Regions from separate parts of the Homo sapiens genome. Here region 2 is linked to region 1. Evidence: promoter capture Hi-C in 16 types of primary human blood cells and fetal thymus (Javierre and others, 2016). All regions are on one chromosome and are shown on one strand. Each heading gives the region's core, a stretch centred on a gene start or on the middle of the fragment in contact. The rest is flanking DNA. Distances are from core to core; before and after follow the strand shown. Region 1 holds the start of TEAD2 (TEA domain transcription factor 2). Region 2 holds the start of BCAT2 (branched chain amino acid transaminase 2).

What was found. The method cuts DNA at HindIII sites, captures the fragments that hold promoters and counts their contacts. A CHiCAGO score of 5 or more calls a contact.
Region 2: a contact is called between the fragment with the promoter of BCAT2 here and the fragment with the promoter of TEAD2 in region 1, in 2 of 17 cell types (naive CD8 T cells and M1 macrophages). The highest score is 5.5, in naive CD8 T cells.

Annotation. Positions count from the first base shown.
Region 1 is chr19:49,356,035-49,363,665 of GRCh38, forward strand. TEAD2 (TEA domain transcription factor 2) reads right to left here and starts at 6,382. Exons shown (of 13, transcript NM_001256660.2): 1 at 6,299-6,382; 2 at 3,810-4,047; 3 at 3,401-3,465; 4 at 1,218-1,280. The coding sequence starts at 4,041. It also overlaps a transcript of DKKL1 not described here. RefSeq lists enhancers at 3,711-4,211, 4,757-5,466, 5,467-6,175. The HindIII fragment of the contact is 6,430 bases long and covers 4,071-7,631 here.
Region 2 is chr19:48,807,793-48,815,423 of GRCh38, forward strand. BCAT2 (branched chain amino acid transaminase 2) reads right to left here and starts at 3,237. Exons shown (of 11, transcript NM_001190.4): 1 at 3,192-3,237. The coding sequence starts at 3,215. It overlaps LOC105372432 (a long non-coding RNA gene), which reads left to right. Exons shown (of 3, transcript XR_936017.4): 2 at 177-307; 3 at 2,552-3,045. HSD17B14 (hydroxysteroid 17-beta dehydrogenase 14) reads right to left here. Exons shown (of 9, transcript NM_016246.3): 6 at 7,245-7,349; 7 at 5,871-5,938; 8 at 5,664-5,760; 9 at 5,226-5,556. The coding sequence ends at 5,383. RefSeq lists enhancers at 2,817-2,886, 3,160-3,454, 5,468-6,079, silencers at 3,207-3,426, 4,503-4,812 and a cis regulatory region at 4,316-4,856. The HindIII fragment of the contact is 3,241 bases long and covers 2,671-5,911 here.

The sequences.
Region 1 (7,631 bases), core at 5,132-7,631:
CGGACTCCCCCACCTCCCTGCCCTACCCGCCCGCACAGCCCCGCCACCCTGAGCTGAGCAGTGCCAAGGGATGGATGCGCAACAGGAAGTGGAGGTGGCCAGCCCTGGAGGGGAAAAGGGGCTCCCTGCCCAGAAAGACAGTGATGGGGGTTTCTAGAACAAGGAAACCCAGAAGGTTCCCAGATGTCCAGGAGACAGGAAATGAGAATTTCAGAGCCAGCGGGAAGACAAGGTAAATGTTTCCTAATCCAGACAGAACAGACAGGGAACACAGAAGGTCGAGAACAGACCGGAAGGGAAGGGTTTCAGACCTAGAGAGAAAGAAAGGGAAAGCTGCTGGATACAAAAAAAAAAAAAAAAAAAAAACCAGAAGCGACCGTCCCCAAGTCCAGAAAAAGAGACAGAAAAACCCCCACACACCCAGAAGGGGGAGAAAATGAGGGTCTCCGGCCAACAGGAACCAGGAAATCCAAAGGATGAGGAGAAGGAAATGAATGAGGAATCTCCACCAGGAAATGAAGATTTCTGGGCACAAAGAGTAGGCAGGTCATGCAAAGGTCAGGAAATGGGAAAACAAACCAGCGGAGATGAAGAGGAGGCCTTCACAGCACAAGAGGGGGAAGATATGAGACCGCCAGGAAGAGGGAAAGGAGGGACAGGAGCAGAGGGAAGGGAGGGGGACAGGAACAGTGGTCAAGGGAGGGGACCGACGGCCCATCCTTCCTGCTGTCCTGAGCAAAACCTTCAGCCTCCTCCATGCCATCGCTCCCTGCCCAGGGTCTCAGCAACCGCACCACCATCCCTATGCATCTCCCTTTGTGGGCCACTGACTCCCCACCCTGGATGACTGCACCCCCCGCCCTGACCACAGAGGTCCCTCACCTGAGGTCTCTGTCCCCCTCTGTCTCTGGGTCTCTGTCTCCCTCTGTCTCTGGGTCTCTGTCCCCCTCTGTCTATGGGTCTCTGTCCCTCTCTCTCTGGGTCTCTGTCCTCCTCTCTTTCTGGGTCTCTGTCCCTCTCTCTCTGGGTCTTGGTCCCCTCCCCCAAGTCTCTGTCCCCCTCTCCCTGGGTCTCTGTCCCTTTCTCTCTGGGTCTCAGTCCTCCCCGCTCTAAGTCTCTGTCCCCCTCTCCCTGGGTCTCTGTCCCTCTCTTTCTGGGTCTCGGTCCCCCACCCCCAGTCTCTGTCCCCCTCTCAGGATGTCTGCATTGGTCCCTACCTTCAACTTGGACTGGATTTCCCTTGATTTCCTTCGGGCCAAAACCTGGATGTGACTAGAAACCTGGAAGGATCAACGGAGAAGCAGATTCAGGCCACAGCCACCGCCCCTGTGTTCACTACCCCTTCTCTCCCTCCAGGTGCCTCACTGAGCTGCTGGACCATGAAAGGTGAAAAACACACTGAAGATGAGAGCCATCTCGGGAGCACCCGAACACAGATGTCCATAAAGGAGCTCGTGAACACCACGGACCCTCCCGGGACCCATCCCATCCAGGCCTCCTTCCCCTCCACCATGCTCTCTCTGTGGCTACTCTGGGTCTAACACAACCACTAGAAAAACTATCCCCAAACAGGCACAGTGAGAGCACACGAACAGACATGCTGATACAGTTCGGACATTCGTCCCTTCCAAATTTCATATTGAAATGCCATCTCCAGTGTTGGAGGTGAGGCCTGGTGGGAGGTATTGGATCATGGAGGTGAACCCCTCATGAATGGCTTTGCACCATCTCCTTGATGATGAGTGACTTCTCACTCAGTTCACACAAGATCTGGTTGTTTAGGCCAGGTGTGGTGGCTCACGCCTGTAATCCCAACACTTTGGGAGGCCTAGATGGGCAGATCACTGGAGGTCAGGAGTTCAAGACCAGCCTGGCCAACATGGTGAAACCCTGTCTCTACTAAAAACACAAAAATTAGGGCTGGGCTCAGTGGCTCAGCTGTAATCCCAGCACTTTGGGAGGCCGAGGCGGGTGGATCACCTGAGGTCAGGAGTTCGAGACCAGCCTGCCCAGCATGGCGATACCCTACTTCTACTAAACATACAAAAAATTAGCCAGGTGTGGTGGTGCGCGCCTGTAGTCCCAGCTACTCAGGAGGCTGAAGCAAGAGAATCGCTTGAACCCGGGAGGCGGGGCTTCCAGTGAGCCAAGATCACGCCACTGCACTCCAGCCTGGGCAACAGAGCGAGACTCCGTCTCAAAAAAATATTTAAAAAATGAAAAAATAAAAATTTGCCAGATGTGGAGGCGCATGCTTGTAATCCCAGATACTTGGAAGGCTGAGGCAGCAGAATCGCTTGAACCCGGAAGGCGGAGGCTGCAGTGAGCTGAGATCACGGCACTGCACTCCAGCTTGGGAGACACAGTGACTTTTCTCTCAAAAACAACAACAACAAAAAGATCTGGGTGTTTAAAAAGAGTCTGGGACCTCTGTCTTTCTTCTGTTGCTCCCACTTTCCATGTGCCAGGCCTGCTCCCACTACCCCCTCCGCCATGATTGGAGGCTTCCTGAGGCCTCACCAGGAGCAGATGCCAGCTCCATGCTTCCTGGACAGCCTGCAGAACTGTGAGCCAAAATAAAGCTCTTTTCTTTCTTTCTTTCTTTTTTTTTTTTTTTGAGGTGGAGTCTGGCTCTGTCACCAGGCTGGAGTGCAGTAGCACGATCTTGGCTCACTGCAACCTCCGCCTCCCGGGTTCAAGCGATTTTCGTGCCTCAGCCTCCCGAGTAGCTGGGATTATGGGCACACACTGCCACTCCCAGCTAATTTTTGTATTTTTAGTAGAGACGGGGTTTCACCATGTTGGTCAGGATGGTCTCGATCTCCTGACCTCCTGATCCGCTCACCTAAAGTGCTGGGATAACAGGCATGAGCCACTGGCCCAGCCTAAAGCTCTTTATCAATTATCCAGCCTTGCCAGGCACAGTAGCTCACGCCTGTAATCCCAGCAATCCCAGCACTTTGGGGGGCTGAGGTGAGTGGATCACCTGAGGTCAGGAGTTCGAGACCAGCCTGGACAACATGGTGAAACCCCATCTCTACTAAAAATACAAAATTACCCAGGCATGGTAGTGCATGTCTGTAATCCCTGCTACTCGGGAGGCTGAGACAGGAGAATTGCTTGAACCCGGGAGGCAGAGGTTGCAGTGAGCCAAGATCGCGCCACTGCACTCCGGCCTGGGCAACAGAGCTAGACTCCATTTCAAAAAATAAACAAATACATAAATAACCCAGCCTCGGGTAATTCTTTATAGCAATACAAACGGACTAACACACATGCCGAGAAGACAGATGAACGCACAGGAAGCAGCTTCTTCCTTGAACCTGAACCTGCCCATGCGAGGATGACCCTAAGAAGACCGGCCCATCCCAGACAGAAGCCCACAAGTCCATTCCGAGACCTGTTTTCGAGTTCGGGTCTTCCCCGTTCTCAGCTTGATGTAGCGGGCGATCAGTTCATTCCGACCTGAAGATTCAAAGACGGAACAGAGTTAGTTAGACTTTCAACAGAACTTCCCCACAGCATGGACACCAGGGAAGAAGAAAGCAGCATGGGTCCCCAAAGGTCTGCAGCAAGTGGGCTGCCGGTCCCCTCAGCTACGTGGAAGCCAGACTGCTTGGGTTCAAATCCCAGCTCCATCACGCACTGGCTCTGTGCGACCATAAGCAAATCACTTAACCTAGCTGTGCCTCAGTTTCCTCATCTGTGCAAATGGTGATGCTAGCTCCTACTTCAGAGTGCTCCATAAACCTTGGTTACTGTCATTATTCATCAGTGGGGGCCAGGGCAAAAGACAGAAGTAGACTCACCATACATCTTGCCTTCATCAGACAAAATTATTTTCCGGCGGCCGCAGGGTGGATAGATGGCCAGGGCCTCCTGGAAGCTCTGCTCAATGTCTGGGCTCCACACCCCCTCTGCATCCGGGCCCCCGTCACCCCCAGCCCCCTCACTGCCGCCGGTACCCTCCTCACTGCCTTCCTCACTGCCCGTCCAGCCGCTGCCATCGTCCAGGGCGGCCCCAGCCCGGGGTTCCCCCATCTGGGCCTGGAGGAACACAGAACTCAGCAAGCTTCCCCCAAACCCCACCCTCAAGGGACTTGAAGCTGAGAGGGCTGGGACTCTGGACCACTGGGTCTGAGGGAGGAGGGGCTGGGGACCTGGACTCCTGGGTCTGAGGGAAGAGGAGCTGGGGGGTATTCCTGGGTCTGAGGGAGGAGGATCTGGGGCCTGAACTCCTGAGTCTGAGGGAGGAGGGGCTGGGGCCCGGACTCCTAGGACTGAGGGAGGAGGATCTGGGGCCTGGACTCCTGGGTCTGAGGGAGCGGGGGCTGGAGGCCTGGACTCCTGGGTGTGAGGGAGAAGGGGCTGGGGTCTGGACTCCTGAGTCTGAGGGAGGAGAAGGAGCTGGATTTCTTGGAAAGCTGAGGATGGGAGTGTTCTCAGAGTTTCCAGAGGAACTCAATTGTGATGAAGTCACAATGATTACCCTAGAGTAATGCCGAGGGCCATGAAGGCTAAAGGTTCGGGTATGAATTACGGGTTTTAAAGAAGACAGGAGGCAAAAGTTAGTGGTGGGGAAGGAAGGTGTGGGTGAAACTTCCCCTGTCCCACCCCAAGAACAGGTGGTAAGATGTGAGCAGCAGCTGCCAGAAAAGAAGAGGGGCCAAGCAAGACTGAGGGGAGGTCTAGAGAGAGGGGGACAGAGACCCAGAGAGGGAGGGGGACAGAGACCCAGAGAGGGGATGGGGACAGAGACCAGCAAGGGGGGGGGACAGAGACCCAGAGAGAGAAGGGGACAGAGACCAGAGAGAGAGGGGGACAGAGACCAGTGAGGTGGGGATAGAGACCCAGAGACAGAGGGGGACAGAGACCAGAGAGAGAAGGGGACAGAGACCCAGTGAAGGGGGGGACAGAGACCAGTGACGGAGGGGACAGAGACCCAGAGAGAGAGGGGGACAGAGACCAGAGGGAGGGGGGGACAGAGACCAGAGGGAGGGGGGGACAGAGACCAGAGAGGGGGACAGAGACCCAGAGAGAGGGACAGAGACCCAAAAAGAGAGGGAGACAGAGACCCAGGGAGAGGGGGAGACAGAGACCAGAAAGAGGGGGACAGAGACCGGGGGGGGGGGACAGGGACCAGAGAGAGGGGTCCAGAGGCCCAGAGAGGGAGACAGAGACCCAGAGAGAGAGGGTGACAGAGACCCAGAGAGAGGGGGACAGAGACCCAGAGAGAGAGGGACAGAGACCCAGAGAGAGAGGGGACCAGAGACCCAGAGAGAGGGGGACACAGACTCAGAGAGAGGGGGACAGAGGCTCAGAGAGAGGGCAACAGAGACCCAGAGAAAGGGAGACGGAGACCTAGAAAGGGCAGGGACAGAGACTCAGGGCAGCAGCTGAGGCCGAGACCAGGAGAGACCCACAGAACCACAAGCTGGGGGACAGGGGCGCCCTGCCATCAGAAGAGCCAGAACAAAGGGCCCAGGCGTCCCCTCCCCCAGCTTCCCACAACCCCCATCAGGGGAGGGGCTTGCCGGCCAGGGCGACTCCCCTCCGGCACCGGGCCCCGCCCCTCCCCTCCCCCGTGCGCCGTGGGCTCTGATCCAACTCAAGTTCCCAGTGACTTTCCGGAGGCCGGGAACAGGGAAAACTTTTTCCAATACAGTCAGATCCCGCCTCCCCGGAGGCTCCATGTCCTCCACAGCTTTCCCAGGACCCCAGAGTCCAGGCCCCTATTCCCCTCCTCCCGCCGACCATAGCAGACAAAGACCCCAGCCAAGCCCAGTGGCGCTGCGGCGTTCAGGACCCCCGTAGGCCAAAATCCCAGCCCAGCCCTTCCCCATGTGGCCAGACAAAGGGACGGTGGAGCCGGGTAAGAAAGGTCCCCCTAATTTCCCGCCCCAGACCCTAAACCTCCAAAGAGGCAAGACTTAAGATCCAGAAAGCCCCGTAACCTCCCCTCGGCCACCCCAGAGGCCCTCCCTTCTCCGTAAGAAGGACCAAATGCCCCCCAGATTACACAAGGGGTCCTTCTCACTCCAAAGTGACACCGCCGCAGACGCACGCCCCACACCCCGCCAGCGCCCTTGGCCCGCACCCGCTCCTGCGCGCACGCCCAAACTCAGACCCAGCCGCAGGCACCCTAACTCCGGCCAGAGTTCCCACTCCTCACTGAGGCTCGGTCACGGGAGCAAATTCGGGCCCCCGGGCAAAAAGAGGGCTGCGAACCATTCAGAGACGGTCCCGCAAACGCACGCCTCACCTCCTAAGAAGCAACTCCCCACCCCAACTCACACACCCCAAAGCAGGATCCCCGACTCCCGCCGGCGCCTTCCTACCTCCCGGCCTGGGGCTGGGGAGCCGCGGGCGGGCGGGGCGCTGCGAGGGAGAAAGTTGCCGGGAGCTTTGTTTGGGAAAAGTGGGAGGGACCGGAGGGGGGGGCGGGCCCGGCCGGCGGACAGCGGGAAGGGGGATCCGACGGTGACAGTTTGGGGAAGGATTTTTGCTTTGGGAGAGATTAGTCTATCTCGGGGCTGGTAGGAACTCAGGATTTGGGTGCTTGGGAAAGGAGGGGGATTGGGGGTTCGGACTCCAAGTCGGAGGGAAAAGGCTGATAGGAGCCAGAAACCCCTGATCTGAGGGAGGAGAGGCTGGGGGCTGGGACTCCTGGGTCTGGGGGCTGGGACTCCTGGGTCTGGGAGAGGAAGCGGCTGGAGAGAGATATGGGCTCCTAGGTCTGAGAGGGGACGGGGCTAGGCGCCTGGAATCCCGGCTACCCTCGTGTTTGTGTATTGGGGGTGCGGAAGTGATACGAATACAAAGAGTCTTTACTGTTAAGCCCTGAGGTTTTTTTTCTTTTTTTCTGTTTGGTTTTTGGTTTTTTTGTTTTTTGTTTTTTTTGTTTTTTTTTTTTTTTGAGGATTGGGGTCTGGGGATGGGTTTTGACTGATTCCTATGACGACCTGGTTTCCTTGTGACCTCACCACAGTTAAGAGTCGTGGGCAGGACCACCGGGAGTTTATTGGAGGCCCACGTAGGTGCAGATTCCTCATCTACAGGCGCTAGTGGACTGGAGACGGCTGGCGGCTGTCCCGGGACGGGGAAGAGAGCTTTGGTGCCTGAGGGAAGATGGCTTAGGGCCCGGTCCCTTAAGGGTGAAAGGCTGCGTGTTCAAAATTACGGGACTAGAGGGGGCGGGAGTCCGGACCTGAGGTCCTCAGGGAAAAGGAAGTCTGATTCTGGGTTCCTTGGAAGATGAAATATAAGACTGGATTTAGGGTTTCCGGAGACAACGGGACTTTTTAGTGGAGCGGGAGCGGGAAAACCAGAAGGGACACGGAGAAAAGGTTCCGAAACAGATACACAATTAGAGTGAGAGCTAAAAGGGATGCTTGTACTCCGGTGTCTCCAGTAGGAGGAGCCTAGGACTGGAACTTGGGGTGATGAGGGCAAGATCTGGGACGCAGGGGCGTGGTCCAGTGCAGGGGCGTGGCCCAGTGCAGGGGCGTGGCTTTCAGCCAAGGGGCGTGGCCATTGCGATTGGGCGGGACTCCGAAACGAGGGCCGCAATCAGAGAACACCGCCAGGACTTCCAGGACTTGGTCTCCAGGACTGAGGTCAACTGACGTGGG
Region 2 (7,631 bases), core at 1,987-4,486, 550 kb before region 1:
CCTTCAGCCCCTGGGGCTGAGGGGCAGCTACAGGGGCCTGGGGAGCCACTGCAGTCCTCACTGCATGAGGCTCAGGCGGGTCCTCCCAGAGGGGAGTAGGAAGAGCAGGTCTGGCTGTGTCCAGCAGGCTGGGCCCTCTCTGGTGACCTTTGACCTCACAAGGCCTCTTTCCCCAGCCCTGTGGGGAGGCGTTGGGGCGTGAGGTTGAGAGAGACAGAGTGGCCTGGCCTGGCCTGCCCTGTGAGCTGGGTGAGTTGGCACTGATTCTGGAAGATGGACGTGAATGGGCGTGGTCACTTGTCGCTAGGTGAGTTGCTGGGAGATGGGCCTGCAGCGTGGTCTTGCTGGTGTGAGGCTCCAGGGATTCCGGGGTGATCAGAGCGTGGGTCCCCAGATTGCCTTTGGGTGGCGACATCTAGACTGCTCAGCCTTGCAGCCATGCTTCTGCCCAGAGGGATAGGACACCCACAGTATGAGAGACACAAACACAGTGCGACAGCCAGCCTGTGGGCAGGAGAGCTGCCCTCAGAGCCAAGATGAAAAAAAGAGAGTAAGAGATGGAAGAGGAAGGATGAGAAAAAGAAACACAGAAAGGGGCGCACAAACAGAAAAAAAAAAAAACAAAAACAGAAATTGACGCCAAGAAACAAGAGATGCCAAAATAGATCTAATCATAGAAAGAGGCCACACGCAGTGGCTCGCGCCTGTAATCCCAGCACTGTGGGAGGCCGAGGCAGGAGGATAGCTTGAGGCCAGGTGTTCAAGACCAGCCTGGGCAACATAGGGAGACCCTGTCTCTACAGAAAATACAAGTTAGCTGGGTGTGGTGGCGGGCGCCTGTAGTCCCAGCAACTTGGGAAGCTGAGGCAGGAGAATTGCTTAAACCCAGGAGGCGGAGGTTGCAGTGAGCCGAGATGGTGCCACTGCACTCCAGCCTGGGCGACAGAGCAAGACTCTCTGTCTCAATTAAAAAGAAAAAAAACAAAGAAAGAAAGTAGGCAGCTGGCTCAGTAGCTCATGCCTGTAATCACAGCACTTTAGGAGACAGAGGTGGGAGGACTGCATGAGGCCAGGAGTTCAAGATCAGCCTGGGCAATATAGCAAGACCCTGTCTCTACAAACAATTTAAAAATTAGCCAGGTATGGTGGCACACACCTGTAATTCCAGTTACTCAGAAGGCTAAGGTGGGAGGATCACCTTGACCTACTGGTCAAGGCTGTGGTGAGCTACGATCACACTGCTACACTCCAGCATGAGTGATAGAGTGTCTCTCAAAAAAAAAAAAAAAAAAAAAAAAAAAAAAGACCAGCATGGTGGCTCATGCCTGTAATCTGAGGCAGGTGGATCGCTTGAGCCCATCTACTCGGGAGGCTGAGGCACCACAGTCACTTGAACCCATGAGGCGGAGGTTACAGTGAGCCGAGATCGTGCCACGGCACTCCAGCCTGAGCAACAGAGCAAGACTCGGTCAAAAAGAAAAGACGAGACAAAGAAATAAAGTACGTTTGGGGGTTCACAGGGCAGGTCTCTATAATGTGATAGAACCTCCATTATGTCCCATACAGCCCAGGAGTATCACCATCAAAGACCAGGAGTGTCACTGTCAAAGCCCAGCAGTGCCCTCCATACTCCAGGACTGTCCCCATATCACGGCCCCGGAGAGACCCCATCATACCGCAGTCTGCCCTTGTCACAGCCCACACATGACCCCATCACGTCTAGAACTGCCCCCTTTATAGCCCAGGACTCTCCCCCATCACAGACCAGGGCTGTTCTATGATGGCCCAAGATGCTCCACATCACAAGTCCAGATTGTGCCTGTAACTTATCAGAACTGGTCCCCAGCAGAGCCAAGTACTGTCCCAAACAGCTCAGGAATGTCCCCTATCCAAAGCCCAGCACTTTTCCCCATTATAACCAGCATTGTCTCTGCCAAATATCAGGGCTTATTTCCTATTCACCAGGTCTGAAATTAAAAAAAAAAAAAAAATCCCATTGTTGTCTTTTTCAATCCCCAGGACTATCCCTATGTTGCTGTCTAGGCCAGTACCTTCCAGACTGTCCCTACCATGGTCCAGCACTGTCCTCTCCACACCCCGGGACTGTCCCCATCACAGCTGAGGACTCAGCCCAATTATCTCCATTACAGGATATCTCTATCTTCATCAGAGCCTAGGAATGTCCCATCATGAGTTCAGGGCCATTCTATGACACCAGAACTGTGCCATGATGAGACGGTCCACATCAGTCCCAAGTGGACCTGTCAAAGCCCAGTACTGCCCCACCACAGTCCAGGAGTGTCACCACTAAAGCCCAGATTGCCCACATACCCCAGGTATCCCAGGACTATCCCTATCAGTCACTAAGAGCCGAAAAAAGTGAAATTCTGCCCTGACATTCATCAGCTAGGATAAGAGACTCAAATAAAGTCAGGTGTAAAGTTAACAGACAGTTCTCCCAAGGTTACACCGCAGCTGTGAAGGCTTGTAATGACCCCTTTCTTTGGCTGTTTCCTTCCTCACTGAGAAACCTTGTTCTCTGAAATCATAGACTCTGGGAAACGCTGCTGCTGTTTGACATCGCACAGTCAGAAGGGATCGTCTCAGCCAGCCTGCAGCATCTGTCACTTTGACCATGAGACGCTGCCTCGATTTCCAATCCAGGTGCAAAGCTTCAGATAGGAGTTTGGGAAGCACAGCAATCCCCATCTCTTATTTTTTTCAACTTTCATTCCAAGAAAATAGGACCTTGAGTCCAATTCCCAGAGCTGAGACTTGAGGTCCAACTCTGCCTTCACCTGCACCCGGCCCTGGAGGTCTGGGCCCCTTTATTCCAGCTCCCGCACAGGCTGATGCCCCACCGCACCCCAGGGCTCCGCTCCCCAAATCACAACCTCCCCACCCCCACGCCTCCCTCATTACAGGGTCCTCCACCATGTTTCCCTTTTTTTTTTTTTTTTTACCTCCCCGCCAATTACTTGCCCCACCTCATCCGCGTCTACCTGCTCCCCCTCACCCCATTAAAGCCTCGTGCTCCTTTCCAAAGGGCGCCATCCTCCTCCGCGCCCTGCAGCGGAACCCCAGGGCGGGAGGAGCGGCGCCGAGTCGGACCGGCTGCAGGCCAGTGGTCTTCCCGGAAGTGCGCCTCCCCCGGTTATTTCCCAGACCCCGGCGCGGGGCTGCGAACCCACCTGCCCCAGAGCGGCTGCGGCCATGATCCGTGCGGCGCGTAACTGTGCCCGCCCGGGGCGCGGCTCCGAAGAGAGACGTTCCGGCCACGCCCCGCTCACGCCTCCTTCTGGGGGAAGGCGGCCGACCAGCGCCCCAGGCCGTCCCAGCTCCAGGGCGTCGGCAGGGAGCCGGACACTGCTGCGGGGCGCAGGCGCTGGTGGGAGGGCAGGACTTGAAATACGGTCCCTGCCAGGCGAAGTGGCTCAGGTCTGTAATCTTAGCACTTTGGGAGGCCGAAGCGGGCGGATTACCTGAGGTCAGGAGTTAGAGACCAGCCTGGTCCAACATGATGAAACCCCGTCTCTACTAAAAATACAAAAAATTAGCCGGGCGTGGTGGCGGGCGCCTGTAATCTTAGCTACTCGGAAAGCTGAGGCAGGAGAATTGCTTGAATCGGGGAGGCAGAGGTTGCAGTGAGCCGAGATGATGCCACTGCACTCCAGCCTGGGCGACAGAGTGAGACTCCGTCTCAAAAAAAAAAAAAAAAAAAAGTCCTGGCTTGGTGGCTCACACCTGTAATCCCAGCACTTTGGGGGCCAAGGCGGGTGGATCACCTGAGGCCAGGAGTTCAAGACCAGCCTGGCCGACATGGGGAAACCCCGTCTCTACTAAAAATACAAAAATTAAGGCCAGGCACGGTGGCTTACGCCTGTAATCCCAGCACTTTGGGAGGCCGAGGTGGGCGGATCACAAGGTCAGGAGTTCAAGACCCGCCTGACCAACATGGTGAAACCCCGTCTCTACTAAAGATACAAAAATTAGCCGGGTGTGGTGGTGTGCGCCTGTAATCCCAGCTACTAGGGAGGCTGAGGCAGGAGAATCATTTGAACCCTGGAGGCGGACGTTGCGGTGAGCCGAGATCGCGCCACTGCATTTCCAGCCTGGGTGACAGGGTGAGACTCCGTCTCAAAATAAATAAATAAATAAAAATAAATACATAAAAATACAAAAATTAGTCGAGCGTGGTGCCGGGGGCCTGTAATCCCAGCTATTCGGGAGGCTGAGGCAGGAGAATCGCTTGAACCCGGGAGGCGGAGGTTGCAGTGAGCCGACATTGCACCACAGCACTCCAGCCTGGGCGACAGAGTGAGACTCCGTCTCAAATTAAAAAAAAAAAAAAAAAATCGTATCCCTCGGCCATCGTGTCTCGGCAATCCTACCCTGGGACACTCTGTCTCCAAATTCTACCCCCACAGTGCCCCCAAGTCCTGTCCCCGGGTCACTATCCTGCCACCCCTAACAGCCACAGGCCCAAACAGCCAAACCGCGGGACCCTTCCCTCACAGGGCGTCGCCCTGTTTTTCTGCGCTCCGCCCCAGTCCTCCTGCCCCACCCGCCAGCCCCGGGCTGTAGGGTCGGGGCCCACTGACAGCTCCCGCCCCCGCCGCGGCCAATCAGCGGTTGGTGCACACGCCCCCCCGGCCACAGCCAATCCGCAGCAGCCCTGCAGCTCCACCCCTCACCTGGGGGACGCCAGCGCACCCGGGCCCTGCCCCCCCCCTGGGTCCAGCTGGGGAGTCTGCGTCCCCCAGTGCCCTGCGGACCAAAACCCAGGAGTTTCAGCCCCTCCTCCCTCTGATCCAGATGTCTCAACCCCCTACTTTCTCTTCCCTTTGGACTTTTCTTGCCAGCCACCTTCCTATTCTACAGGCAGTGAGAGGAAAACTCCTTTTCCCTGAGGGCCAAGAGTAAGAGGGCCTTCTGCGTCTCCCCCTCCATTACCTCCTAATTAGCGCTTAATTTACTCTCCCCTGCGGGCCTTTAGTTAGCGCGCTGGTGAAGCCAAACCGCTCTACCCTTCCCAGGAGCCCCTGGCGACAGCGACAGGGCTAGCAACATCAGGCACCTGCTTGCTGCAAGGCCTGGGGTTGGGGGGCGGGGGGAGCTGCAGTCCTTCAGGGTCGAGGCAACTTGTGGGTCTGGGGTGCAAGGGCTAAGTGGGGCAGAAGGACTCGTCTAAAGGATGGGAAATAAATATAACGATATCCTCCTCCTTCTGGCTGCAAATCGTTTTTATGGGAACCTGCAGGGTGACCCGGCACCTTGCTAACTGGGCTTAGAGTCTAAGGGCTTGGGGGCTGCATCTGATACAGGTTGGAGTTTGGGGTGGGAGAGTCCTAGGAAGGGGGCCCCAAGTAGAAATGAGAGAAATCAGGAAGGGATATCGGGGGCGTCCACGGGGGTGCTCCGACTGGCCTTGCACCCGTACCCCAGCTCTGCACCCCCCGTCACGAGCAGTTCAATGCCCGTGCAGAAGTTGGCTTCGGAGGCCAGGAACACTGCCGCAGCCCCGACCTCAGCGGGCTGGCCCATGCGGCCCAGTGGCTGGGGAGAAAAGAGGGGGGAAGGAGGTCAAGAGGAGCCCCACTTGATCGCCATGCCCCCCACCCCCATGCCACCTTCTACCACCTGGATCTGAACCCCACTTCTACCTGGGCCAGCATGCCCTCTCGGATTGTGGCCCTAGGGTCTGGCATTAAGGCTGCCAGCTCCTCCCACAGCGGGGTCCAGATGTTTCCTGGGGAGATACTAGAGGAAGGGAGAGGGGGGATCAAAGCAATCTGTCTCGAACCACTTGGGATCACTCCCAGTCACCCCAGTCCCCCCAGGAGGCTCTCCGCCTGCTCAGAGCAGCTCACCAGTTGACTCGGACACCATATGGACTTTCATCCAGGGCCAAAGCTTTGGTCATGGCTGTTACTGCCCCCTGCAGGAAATGGAGCGGGGAAGAAAGTTCAGTCCCCGGGACATGGGGTCCCTGCCATCCATTGTCTCCTGCCAGCCAGGGGGGCATCAGAATGGGGAAGTCATGCCCTCCTTGAAGGCTGCCTTCAGAGGCACCAGGCTTGGTTTCTTGGGAGAAACTTGGCATAGAAATCTGTCACAGGAAGGCCAGGTGCAGTGGCTCACACCTGTAATCCCAGCACTTTGGGAGGCCGGGATGGGTGGATCACTTGGGCCAGGAGTTCGAGACCAGCCTGGCCAACATGGCAAAACCCCATCTCTGCTAAAAATACAAAAATTAACCGGACATGGTGGTGCACGCCTGTAATCCCAGCTACTGGGGAGGCTGAGGCGTGAGAATCGCTTGAACCCATGAGGCAGGGGTTGCAGTGAGCTGAGATCATGCCACCACACTGCAACCTGGGTGACAGAGTGAGACCCTATCTAAAAAAAAAAAGAAGAAAAGAAAAGAAAAGAAAAAAAGAAAGTTAGCCGGGCACAGTGGCTCATGCCTGTAATCCCAGCACTTTGGGAGGCCGAGGTGGGTGGATCACCTGAGGTCGGGAGTTCGAGACCAGCCTGACCAACATGGTGAAATCTCGTCTCTACTAAAAAATACAAAAATCTAGCTGGGCGTGGTGACAGCCACCTGTAATCTCAGCTACTTGGGAGGCTGAGGCAGGAGAATCACTTGAACCCGGGAGGCGGAGGTTGCAGTGAGCCAAGATCACACCATTGCACTCCAACCTGGGCAATAAGAGCGAAACTCCATCTCAAAAAAAAAGAAAGAAAGAAAAGAAAAAACAGAAATCTGCTGGGTGCGGTGGCTCATGCCTGTAATCCCAGCACTTTGGGAGGCCAAGGCAGGCAGATCATGAAGTCAGAAGATCGAGACCATCCTGGCTAACATGGTGAAACCCCGTCTCTACTAAAAAATACAAAAAAAATTAGCTGGGTGCGGTGGCATGCGCCTGTAGTCCCAGCTACTCGGGAGGCTGAGTCAGGAGAATCCCTTGAACCCAGGAGGCAGAGGTTGCAGCTGAGATTGCACCACTGAACTCCAGCCTGGTGACAGAGCGAGACTCCATCTTTAAAAAAAAAAAAAGAAAAGAAAAGAAAAAACAGAAATCTGTCACAGGCAGTTATGCCTGGGTGCTGCATCTGGGAGTTAGGTGTGAGACTTTCTAGGGCCAAGATCTTGCTAGGTCTGGCTCCTAAGTTGTCTGGACTCAAAGCCAAGGCCCATGGGAAGGAGTAGGGAGGGAAGGAAGGGGTAGGGGCTGCCATACCTTGGTGGCCACATAGGGAACTGCCTGGGCCTGGCCGATTGCCCCCACCAGGCTGGAGATGTTGATGACATTCCCTTGACTCTTCCGCAGGTAGGGGAGGGCGAGCTAGGGAGACAAGAGGCCAAGTAAGCTACACAAGCCCTGCATCTTCGCAGACCACTGAAACACAGCCACAGCCATCCTGATGTCTGGGATGACGGCCACCTCCCTGGCATGTTTCTAGTTGATCTCAGTGACTGCTAGAGACGGCATCTAACATAACACCCTCTCTGGTTTGCCCTGGGGTCGCTGGGTCTCAGCACTCAAGGAGTCTCTCCTTGGTGGGAAGGGATTTCTCTCTCTTCTCCTCGGTCTCTGACTCTGTCTTTGTCTCTACCTCTGTCCCTT